Linked DNA regions of Homo sapiens: regions 1 and 3 are each linked to region 2. The links are contacts of gene promoters, found by promoter capture Hi-C in blood cells and fetal thymus (Javierre and others, 2016). All regions are on one chromosome and are shown on one strand. The core of a region is centred on a gene start or on the middle of the fragment in contact, and the rest is flanking DNA. Distances in the headings are between cores, read along the strand shown.

What was found. Contacts are between HindIII fragments. The CHiCAGO score rates a contact against its expected background, and 5 or more counts as called.
Region 1: a contact is called between a fragment that was not itself captured here and the fragment with the promoter of SPTBN1 in region 2, in 2 of 17 cell types (megakaryocytes and endothelial precursors). The highest score is 6.0, in megakaryocytes.
Region 3: a fragment that was not itself captured here is called in contact with the fragment with the promoter of SPTBN1 in region 2 in 2 of 17 cell types (megakaryocytes and endothelial precursors); the score reaches 8.0 in megakaryocytes.

What each region holds. Positions count from the first base shown.
Region 1 is chr2:54,168,323-54,172,036 of GRCh38, reverse strand. All of the region lies in intron 3 of ACYP2 (acylphosphatase 2), which reads right to left. Among named protein-coding and RNA genes, the nearest start is that of ACYP2, 55 kb to the right of the region's middle. The HindIII fragment of the contact is 2,731 bases long and covers 302-3,032 here.
Region 2 is chr2:54,454,688-54,458,256 of GRCh38, reverse strand. SPTBN1 (spectrin beta, non-erythrocytic 1) reads right to left here and starts at 1,930. Exons shown (of 36, transcript NM_003128.3): 1 at 1,739-1,930. The HindIII fragment of the contact is 18,714 bases long and covers 1-3,569 here.
Region 3 is chr2:54,193,584-54,197,532 of GRCh38, reverse strand. All of the region lies in intron 3 of ACYP2 (acylphosphatase 2), which reads right to left. Among named protein-coding and RNA genes, the nearest start is that of TSPYL6, 61 kb to the left of the region's middle. The HindIII fragment of the contact is 1,231 bases long and covers 1,847-3,077 here.

The DNA of each region.
Region 1 (3,714 bases), core at 418-2,917, 290 kb after region 2:
TCCCTATGTTGACTAGGCTGATCTTGCACTGCTAGGCTCAAGAGATCCTCCTCCCTCAACCTCCTAAAGTGGTAGGATTACAGGTGTGAACCGCCACACCCAACCCAAGAATATCAATTTTTAAAACCAACATTCCAATTAGTACAGGGAAAGAAAACGGCACCTTTTTAAAGAAAAGCAAGCCCCTTAAAGAGGAGAAAGAACTGTAATTAGAAATGTATTAAGAACTAAAAAGCCGTTTTTAACTTGTTTCCTAAGACACCGAAAAATAGAACTGACAAGTACAACTTCCAAAGAAGCTTAGATTTACTTACTCTATTATTAAAATTTCCAGTTCAAAATTTTTAGAATTACTAATGAAAGGGGTGAAAAAAGCTCTTACAGGAAAAAAAAACTAAGATCCTCAAGTTAAATTTGTAATGCTTCTACTGGTGAAAATTGACCTTCATGAGCAAAGAAAACAACAGAGTTGCTCTCAAACAGGTTAATAATGTATTTAGCAACCAACGCCACATTGTGATTCTTATACAACCACAAACGACACAAGATAGTGTCCTAAATTTGTGGACATAACTTTTTGGCATAACACAGCTTTTTGGCAGATAAATTTGCTTAATAGAGAAGATATGCATTTGGCCATCAGGAACTAGGGCTCTTAGTGGATGGGTAACAGCTCGCCCCCCGATAACATTCCCATATTCCATTCGCTATCTTCAGTATGGGGAGGAAAGCTGTGGACTGTATTTCTTTATGTTTGAAGCCCTTCTGAGTAGTTTTATGAGATTAAAAGGGTCGTATTTGGGGCTGGACAGCAGACACGAAGGAAGGCCAGCGTGAACCTTTGGGAATGTGCACTCCGGCTTGCGCACTCCAGCCTGTCCCCTGCTGATCACATATGGGGAGGGGGATGTACAAGGTTAACCTTGAGAGGAGCTCTGGCTCAGAGATCCCGGCCCAGGATCTGTCACATACACACAGAAGGCAGCCCAAAGAGTATGAAATGCCGAGCCCTCCCGATAGTCTTGATAGCCTCCCAGTACAACCAGCCACTCCAGTAAATAAACAAAGTGAGCCCTGGCATTTCCCTGTGATTGACTTGGATGGCGCTGCACCTCACAGGGGCAGTGAGGAGGTGATTGTGTCAGGCAGTGGAGAATTACTGAGACCTGCAGATGGATGCTAACAGACCCTCCTCCCACCTTTGACTGTGTAACTACTTCATTACAGGAGTTCCAGGCCTTCAGATAAGGTCAAGAGACCAAAAGTATAAAGCATATCCTCCTTCCTTTTGCCTATCCAAATCTTAACCTTTCCTTTTAAAAATCCCTGTTCTTTACGAAGTCATATTACAATCCCAAAGTCATATTACAATCCCTGCCCACAAGATTTTCCCATCTAGCTGGAGATGTGAATATACTTCCAACCGCCTAAGAGACTGTGTCTATTCTGTGATTTTAAAAAAAAAAAAAAACTGTTTTAAGAAAAATTTCTGCAACAGGATTTGGAGGTAAAGTTTTTCTATCACCTGGTATTGGCAACCAAGTATCACCAAGTGTCACAAAACGCTAAAAGAAGAAATGAACTGGCCAGGCGTGGTGGCTCATGCCTGTAATCCCAGCACTTTGGGAGGCGGAGGCAGGCAGACTGCTTGAGGCTGTGAGTTCGAGACCAGGCTGGCCAACATGGTGAAACCCCGTCTCTACTAATAATACAAAAATGAGCCAGGCATGGTGACACACACCTGTAATCCCAGCTACTCGGGAGGCTGAGGCAGGAGAACCACTTCAACTCAAGAGGTGGAGGTTGCAGTGAGCCAAGATCGCGCCACTGCACACCAGCCTGGGCAACAGAGTGAGAGTCTGTCTCAAAATAAAAAGAAGAAATGAACAACTGGAGCCAGATTCCTCCTTGAGGGCACCTTAGGACACAACTTACATAGTTCTAAAAATATAAAAACTGACTGCTGATGCATTAACCAAAAGTCATATAAAAGCATAATGAGGAAATGAGGGAAGGAAAGACTAGTTTAAGAGTCACATCTTCATCTATCATAATAGGACATCAATAGATTTGTCTATCACGGTAAAAAGTCACCAGATAATATCTAAAGTTAATGATTTAAGAGATACCAGTTAATCTGAAATTAGGAGGAATACTCAAAAAAATCGCTAAAACTATTGTTGAGGAGTGGGATGGGATGGGTTGAAGAGGCAGTAGTTGCTGGTTTTTAAATATTTTTAGCACTGTTTGACTCTTAGCATCCAGGTATTATTTCATTAATTATTAGAATTATTGAAAAATAAAATTAACTTATAGAAATAGAAGGCAATATTTTTCTCGATGGAAAAAAAACCGTAAGTTTCATGGGCCTTTCCTGTGCACTGTTTGTCAAAAATGTTGTCTAGAGTACATGGATATGGCTGGTAGGTAGTAGCTAGACTTACATCAAATTCCTAGAGGTTGGCCAGGTGAAGTGGATCATGCCTGTAATCTCAGCACTTTGGGAACCCAAGGCAGGAGGGTTGCATGAGGCCATCATGGCCAACATAGCAAGACCTATTCTCTCTTAAAAAAAAAAATTCTAGAGGCTGAGGATTGTTTATCACATTTTTTGATGTAGGATCCAAACGAAGGTGAGCATGTGTGTATTTATTTCAGTAATGTCCATAAATTTGAAACTGAAGTCAAAGGGGGATAGGGGAGGCTCTCATGGGTGTGCTCCAAGCATCAAAGAAACAGATCAAAATCAGACAGACCTAACAAAGAGGAACAACACACCAGGACCCAAGAACGCAAGCATGCAACTCCAATGGCACCACACATGCTAATTAGCCCTGGAAGATTCACTGCTGAAACTATCTACTGGAGTCATCAGAAAAAGGCCAACCTCTGCTAAATAGCTTCCATTCTGTGGGGAAAAAGGTAAGCGATAAGTCTAACATACTTTAGAAAGAATAGCGTTCAAAATTATTTAGGTAGAAAAATTCTTCTGTAACACTCCTGATTGGTTCTTTGGACAGGAAAACCAAGCTTTACAAATCCCAACAGGTTTAAAGGAAAATGACGCCAAAAATAAAGCTTTGGCTCATCTTACCAGTGTTTCACCTCAGTTGTCTATTTTATAGGCCATTTAAGTGAAAGCATGCACTAAAAATTTTGACTTTGTCATCCTCAGCTATCCAGAAAATGGCAATGCTTAAAATTCTATTTCTAATACAATTACAATTAATGTGTTATCTATAATACACCCTCTACAGTCTTCCTGTTTTATCATCCATTTTACATTTTCCCAAGAGATACTGTATGTTCATTTTCACTGCTCTTTCTCTTTTTAAAATTCATTGGGTTTCTTTAATTCAATGATTACTATATCTATTTTAAAATAACTCAGCTGATATATAACAATAATGGCTCTACTACACCTGTCTAAATATTATCCCCGTAATGTATCTGAAATTATATTAGTAACACTTCTCTTGGTAATATCCAATTACTTTTTATGGTTTCTAACTCACGGTTCATGTGGCTTTTTTCCTTTATTGGACATTTGGATGTAGCAGATTATTTTATTATTTTATTTTATTCTATTCTATTTTATTTTGTTTGGTTTTGAGACGGAGTCTGCTTCTGTGGCCCAGGCTGGAGTGCAATGTCGTGATCTCTGCTCACTGCAACCTCTGCTTCCCGGTTTCAGTGATTCTCCTCCCTCAGCCT
Region 2 (3,569 bases), core at 681-3,180:
TAAATGTCTTAGTGACATAAAACCCAAAATGCATTAATCATTTCATTTAAAAATGGTTTCCTACAGAAAAAATGCATACTTGGTATTAACCAAAGACAGACGAGGTACTGTAATGTCACAGTTGTGAAGGTCCAATTAATAAACACCAACTTTTCACGTAGAAAAAATTAATGCATAGCTGGGTTGTGGTTACAGATTATGGACGATCCACAGAAAAACGCTGCGACTCCCCACACTGCAACATTGCCTCCGCACACCACTGGGCCCAGTCCTTCCTGCAGCCCCTCCCTATGGCTCAGGTCCCCTGGTCGCAGATCAGATTCCGATCCGCAACCACAGGCCGGCTCCCCTCTGCCTGCACTGGTGATGCAGGGCGCCCCTCCGGCAGAGCGCAGCCCAAGAAGAGGTGCAGGAGGGATCATCCCAAAAGAAAAGACTCTCCCCTGCTCACACCTAGCTGACCTGGTCCTCCTGACGCCACATCCAGCAGAAGCTGCAGGACAAGGTAGCAGCAGCTCCAGGCCTCGGCCAAGGGCAGCCCCGGGCCTGGGTGGGGCCGGGCGGGGGCCGCAGGCGCCGAGCGGCCGTGCCAAGCCCCGCCAGCGAGAACCAAGGAAGCTGCGATACTGCTGCATTGTGCTGCATCACGGCGAGGGCACCGTGAGCCATCCATCTTGCCAAAAAAGCACATCCCCGCCCAAATAAACCCCACCGAATTCAATTTTCTGCTCCGCCGAAGCACCCCCACACGCACCCTGTCCTCACTTACTATCTGGCCTGGCTTTCGATTGGAAAAATAATGGACAGAGGTTTGCGTTCTGATCCCCACCCCCTCCTCATCTGATGGCAGCAGTTGGCACCTTTCCTATCACAAAAACAAAGAGAAGGCGCCCCCTAAAAGAGGGCCGTGGGCGTGGTGTGGGGGGTGATGACGAGCCAGCCCACCTACCCAAAGCAGGCCCGGAGGGTCCCTGCGCTGAGACAAACCTGTTGAAGAGAGGGTGGCAGGAGCTGAAGGGCGGGCGCAGCGGCGGCTCGGCGCCCGGAGGCGGCTCACGCCCAGCCCTGGGAGAGTGGGGACGGCAGAAAGGGCGGGGGGGGGGCGGGCGCACGAGGGTAGCAAGCGCAGGGATGGGGCGGAGGTGGGGGCGCGGGGCCGCCGCCTCCGGCTCAGCTGCAGCGCGGCGCAGCCGGGACCACGCCTGGCCGCATCCCCTGCACCGCTACGCGCAGAGCCCGGCCCTGTCACCGCCGCCCCCGCTCCCCACCCGCGGGGCCACAGAGAGGGCACCTGAAAATAGACCCTCCGGCTGTCCGCTGTCCGCTCCGCACCCACCTCCGCGCCAGGGGCCTCCGCGTCAGGGGCCGCCGCGCCCGGCTGCAGGGAGGCGCCGGCGGAGGCAGGGAGGAGGAATCGCCGCGCCGCGCCGGGGCTGGGGCCGGACGGCAGCGGTGCGCACGGCGGGTCTGCTGCCGCCTCACCGCAGAGCCTGCCGCCCCTCGTCCCGCATCATCCGAGTACCAATGAGCACCCGCGACCCGGGCTCCCCGCGCCGCCCCCGCCCGGGCTTTGCAGCCTCCCTGCCCCCACGCGGCTCCCCGGGCGCAGGGCAGGCGGGCAGCGGCGTCCTCCGGCCCTGGGCCCGCGCCCCTCCTCCCGCCCGTCCGCCGCCGCGGAGCCCACCCGGGAGGCAGCCCCAGTGAGTTGGCATCTCCCTGCCTCGGGCCCCCTACCTACCTCCCGGGGATGGGGTGGGGGCGCCGGGGTCCCGTCCTCCTCCCGCTCCTCGGCGGCCGGGCGGGTGGGCCGGGAGGCGACTCCGCGGGTCTGTCCGCGGCTGGGGCCGGGGCTCACAGGACGGGACCAGTGGGCGCTGCTGCGCAGGGCTGCGCGCTCGCTCCGGGAGGAGAGGCGGCCGAGGGAGGGACTGGAGGAATCCGCAGCCTGCACGGCAACAGCGGCACTGATTCCGGGGGCTGGGCGGGAGCGCGGGGGGCGGGGGGAGGAGGAGAGGAGGGCGCTCGCAGGGAGGGGGCGAGGGGCGGGGAGAGGAGCGCGCGGGGCGGGCGCGCGCGCACACACACACAAGCGCACTCCCGGGATCCCTCCCGCACGCCCTCCGCCCTCCGCACTCCTCCCTCCCCACTCCCGCCCGCTCCCTCTGCTTCGCCCGCCCTCTCCTCCTGCCCGGAGCCCCGCAGCCGCCCAGGGAGCCGAGCCTCGGGCGCGTCCACGTCCTCTCCAGCTGAGGCTCTTCCCGGGTCCAGCCCGGACCTCATCCTCCCAGCGGCGGGGACCGACCAGGCTGGCCGGGGCGGGGTGGGCACTGCTGCTGCCGCTACCCGAGCAGGACAATAGGGGCTTTGTCTCCACAGCCGGAGAGGGCCAATTTCACGTTTAATTTGAGGCTAATTCGATTATCGCCATGGAAAGAGGCGGTCTAATTTTCTACGTGATTTGTGCAGCCTCTTTTCGCCCTTGATGTTGCGTTCGGAATGCTGGGGAGAGAGGGTATTTAGGGAGGTTTTGGAGCGTCACTTGCTTGGTTGGTTTGAGATGCAGTTGGTGATGCCTTATAGGTTCTACCCAACTTGGAGAAGGGCGACGGCGACCTCTTCGTGGGAAACCTTGGGCGCTGGAGGATGGGTGGTGGGGGTCGTTCCTTGTGAGGTTAATGTATTCTTTTGCAAATGCTTTTTCGCCCACCCTTTCGCTTTGGGTAGCTGGGAGCAGACCCTACAAGTGGTTCATCCAACTCCTGCCTCTCAGTGCAGGCTCCGCTCGAACCTGAGGCCAGGTGCCCTGCCCCAGTCACTCCCGAGAGAGGGGTCGTCCGGCCGCGGTGGAGGGCCCCGTGATGGCGTGGGGACTTGCGTTTTCCCCTATGCGCATTCCCTGAAACGGAAACTGGACGTTTCCTCAAATTTTTGTCATGTGCCACTGCCCCTTCCCAGTCACCTGGTCTACCCCGTCAGCCCCTCAGGCTGTGTAGAAATTCCAGAACCGTCACTGTTGTGAAGAAAAGATGGTGGAATCACCAGGACCACGAATGGAAACGCTCTTTAGAAAAGCAGTTTGAAGAAACTGACTTTCTCCTTGTTCTGTAAAGTGCACAGGGCGGCACTGCGGGCATTCAGAGGGAGGAGGGCCCTTCCTGTTTGAAAAAGCCCCAGGGCTTTTTCCCCATACAGACCTGATCACCTGGATTAAAATAAAACAAAAATACACGGCAGCCAAGTAGTTTGTATCATGCTTATATCTCAGATCACTAGAACCTGGCCTGATGGGTTTATATGTTTGTATGTATTTTTAAATGAATATTTTAAAATAAAACTCAGTGAAATCGTCACAGCAAACTGAAGATGATTCTTCCTTTTAGGCCTTCATAGGTTTGAATGTTTGAACCTATGTTTACTTTTGATAGGAAAAAAATTGAGGAAAGCAAATAACATTTTTTCTCAGAAGGTGAATCAACACAACCAGACCGTAAACTCTCTTAAAGGTAGGGTTATTTCTTTCTTCACTCTGTACATATAGCAGGCACTTAGGTACTAAAACAAATTTGTTG
Region 3 (3,949 bases), core at 1,213-3,712, 260 kb after region 2:
TTCTCAGAGCATGCATTGGTTTTGGATACTATGTTGCTTACTAATGTATTGCTTTCTCCTCAAGACTATAAGCTCCTCAAAAGCTGGATCTTTGTGTATACTGCTCACTACTCTTATAGGTAAAGGGAAAGGGGGTTCATGCCCCTGGGGAAGATGGGAGTACGTGGAGAAGTTCCAGCTTCCTCCCCCGCAACCCCTGTAGGGAGTGGGAGAGAGAACTAATTCTGAGATGCATTGTTCACTGTTCCTCAGAGTCCTCAGATATACAGTGCCCTGGGTGACCCCTGAGGTAGCTCTCAACCCAACATCAACTCCTGTATTAGCTTTTCTTCCTTCCCTGTTTCATTCTCCCCTCTCCATCATTCTGCTTCCTGAAATCACCTCCCAACGAACCACTCACTGTCTCAGGCTTGCTCTCAGGGAGATCTCAGCTAAAATAATCTCTAAGCCTCATTTTGCTCCTCTGTAAAGGGGGGTTATAATACTACCTAATCTTGTTAGTACCTTCTCCTAACACAGTGCTGTTTTAACTCAGTGTTGTGCTATGAGGATTAAATGAGGTGACACGTGGACAGTTCTCATCATGGTGTCCAGCACACATGAAAATTCCACCAGTACTACTTCGCTCGTAATACCAACAGCAAGCAACAGTTCAAGCAACACTTAATCTACCATGATACACTTTCACAGGAAATCAAACAGGCAATTCACATAAATGTGGGGCTATCTTCTAGCACCATGGTCCTCTGGGGGCGATTTCATCCCCACTGGGGATGTGACCAATATATGGAGACAAATTTGGTGACCACGACTGGGGGTTGCTAGTTGCAACTAGAGGGTGAAGGCCAGAGAAGCTGCTAAACATCCTAATGCACAGGACAGCCCCTCACAACAAAGAATTATCCAGCCCCAAATGCCAATAGCACCAAAGCTGAGAATCCCTATCTAGCACAGTATCCTGATGATGAGAGGAGCTTAATAAATATTTATTTAATGTAATTCACCAAATCTTAAAAAAAATTGAAATAATCACATCAGAAGAAGAAAATTAAATCTTGGCTGGAGGTCTGTGTATGTTTACCACAGAAACAAAGCCATATAAAGCACACATCCATGGCTCATTTGGGAAAAAGGACAAATCTTTTTTTTAAAGGACAAATCTTAAAATAGGTTAAGTCTGTAGTCCCAGTTACTCGGGAAGCTGAGGTGGGAGGATGGCTTGAGCCTGGGAGGTGGAGATTGCAGTGAGCGGAGGTTTCAGTGAGCCAAGATTGTGCTACTGCCCTTGAGCCTGGCTGACAGAGTGAGGCCCTGTCTGAAAAAATAAAATATGTTAAATATCAAGGTATGGCAGAAGTTCTAGATGCCCATTTAATACACATTCAGCCCTTTCTCTTTAGTAATAAAATCCAATTTTAATTAAGATGACAATGTGGGCCGGGCATGGTGGCTCATGCCCGTAATCCCAGCACTTTGGGAGGCCAAGGTGGGTAGATCATCTGAGGTCAGGAGTTTGAGACCAGCCTGACCAACATGTTGAAACCTTGTCTCTACTAAAAATACAAAAATTAGCTGAGTGTGGTGGCAGGCGCTTGTAATCCCAGCTACTCAGGAGGCTGAGGCAGAAGAACTGCTGGAACCCAGGAGGCAGAAATTGCAGTGAGCCAAGATCGCGCCATTGCACTCTAGCCTAGGCGATGGAACAAAACTCTGTCTCAAAAAAAAAAAAAAAAAAAAACCCACAACAAAACGATGACAATGTACCCCTCTAAAAAATTATTTAACCATCCTCTCTTGCAACTAAATGAAGCACATGTCACTGAATAACAGCTCCTAAGAAAAAGCTTTAAAGACAATTGACCCAGTTAGTACAGTGTTTTGTTTTTTTTTTTTTGCCTTTGGCCAGTCTTCATTCTTGCAACGTGGCTGCGGATGTGATAGCTGGGGCTGCGGGGGCCACATGGCAACCATGAGGTGCCCTGGAGGATGGAGTTTGGGATCCTTGTAAGCAGGGAACTGCCATGCGAGCCATGAACTGTGTATCTCTGTACTTCTCTTACGTAAGAGAAAAACCACCCTCTCTTTTGTTTCAGCTAGTATTACTTGGGCTTCCAGTGACACTTACTTAAGGGATTAAATCTATTAACTATAGTCGTGAAAGGAAGCTGACTGTCAAAGGATATATATCTAAAATATTAATATCATCTCTCAGTTAATTATCACTAGCAACAAAGAAGTTTAAGGATCTGAGAAGATCTGCGGAGGTCCATGAAGCTAGGTAAATTGGTTTGTGACTGGCAATGCCCTCTATACCATAGAATCTAACAATCGGCCCTTTTATAGCAGTGACCACATTCCCAAAGGAGCTAATGAGGCCAACAGAAGAGAAACACCCTGTAGGCAGATGCACATGAAGTTCTGTGAAGATCAAAAACTGCCATTGTAAATATGACTAAAAAGAAAAGAGTGAAGCAGTTTAGCCACTGAATTTTGAGGTCTCTATTCTGACCTAGTTTGGGGAGGTACCAAAAATAAGTCAATGCATATGGTTCTCTCTATTCCTACCTTCATTTGAATATTCATTATCAGAAAACACAACATCCTAAAATAGCTTCTAGAGTTTCCACTAGTGATACCAACTCTGAATATATACACTTCTAGTAATATACAGTCAAGTGACAGCCTACTATGTGGATAGCATTGTAAGAAGGTATAAAGGTTCATAAAAGAAGGAAACAGTTCATTCCTAACCTAAATAGCTTTCATATCTAGTTAGGAATACCAAACATGACACTTGCAAACAAATTGATAATAACATGACAAAGCAACAGAAAGTGTTTGCAGAACTTGTAAATATATTAAAGAGAAAAAAAGAACAAAATTAAAGGTGAAAAATAACATAGTCTTTGATGTTGATGGTACTTATTACTCAATAGATATAATTTGTACTATATGTTCATATAATATATTATTATATAACATTATGGACTTCCTGATAAAAGAAAAATAATCAATGAGTGCACTCAAGATTTTAATAACGTGCCTCCTGGATGAAAAAGCTGAGTTAAAGGAAAGCTTTAACTCAATAAAAGTATGCAGTTAATTTTTTTCACTTCCAAATATTGATGTTTTACTTCCTGTAGAATTGACTAAAATCCATTACACAGTGTTCCCAAAAGAAAATGTTGATGGGGGCTGGGCGCGGTGGCTCATGCCTGTAATCCCAGCACTTTAGGAGCCCAAGGCAGGTGGATCACTTGAGGTCAGGAGTTCAAGATCAGCCTGGCCAACATGGTGAAACCCCATCTCTACTAAAAATGCAAAAATTAGCCAGGTGCGGTGGCACACCCCTGTGGTACCAGCTACTTGGGAGGCTGAGGCAGGAGAAATCACTTGAACCTGGGAGACAGAGGTTGCAGTGAGCCTAGATCGTGCCATTGCACTCCAGCCTGGGTGACAGAGGGAGACTCCATCTCAAAAAGAAAAAAAAGAAAATGTTGATGGGGTGAAAGATGATCAGTCCTAAGGCTTCATATATCATGCCTATTTGGAAATCTGATTTTTAATATTTTAAGCACAGCACAAATAAAATCACATGAACAGAATATTTTACTCTATAATGTTTAAGCAAGTTTTAAATGAATCATAAATGAGAGTGTTTCTATTTTTTCCCAACTCATTATGCCAATTACTTTCTAATACATTACTACTTATTTGCAGATATAAAGACAACAGTAATATCCTAATTACAGATCACAAAAATTGCTGCCATTTTGCCAGCATGTGCTATTTGTATAATAACAGCTGTCAGTCATTCCAGGCTACATTCCCACCTATATTATAGATTAAAAATATAAGATTGATTTTCATCATGAGTATAAATTCACATATTATTAAATGAAAATTTGGCCTTATGAGCAAAACAAGAATACAACTGAAAGAAAAAAAC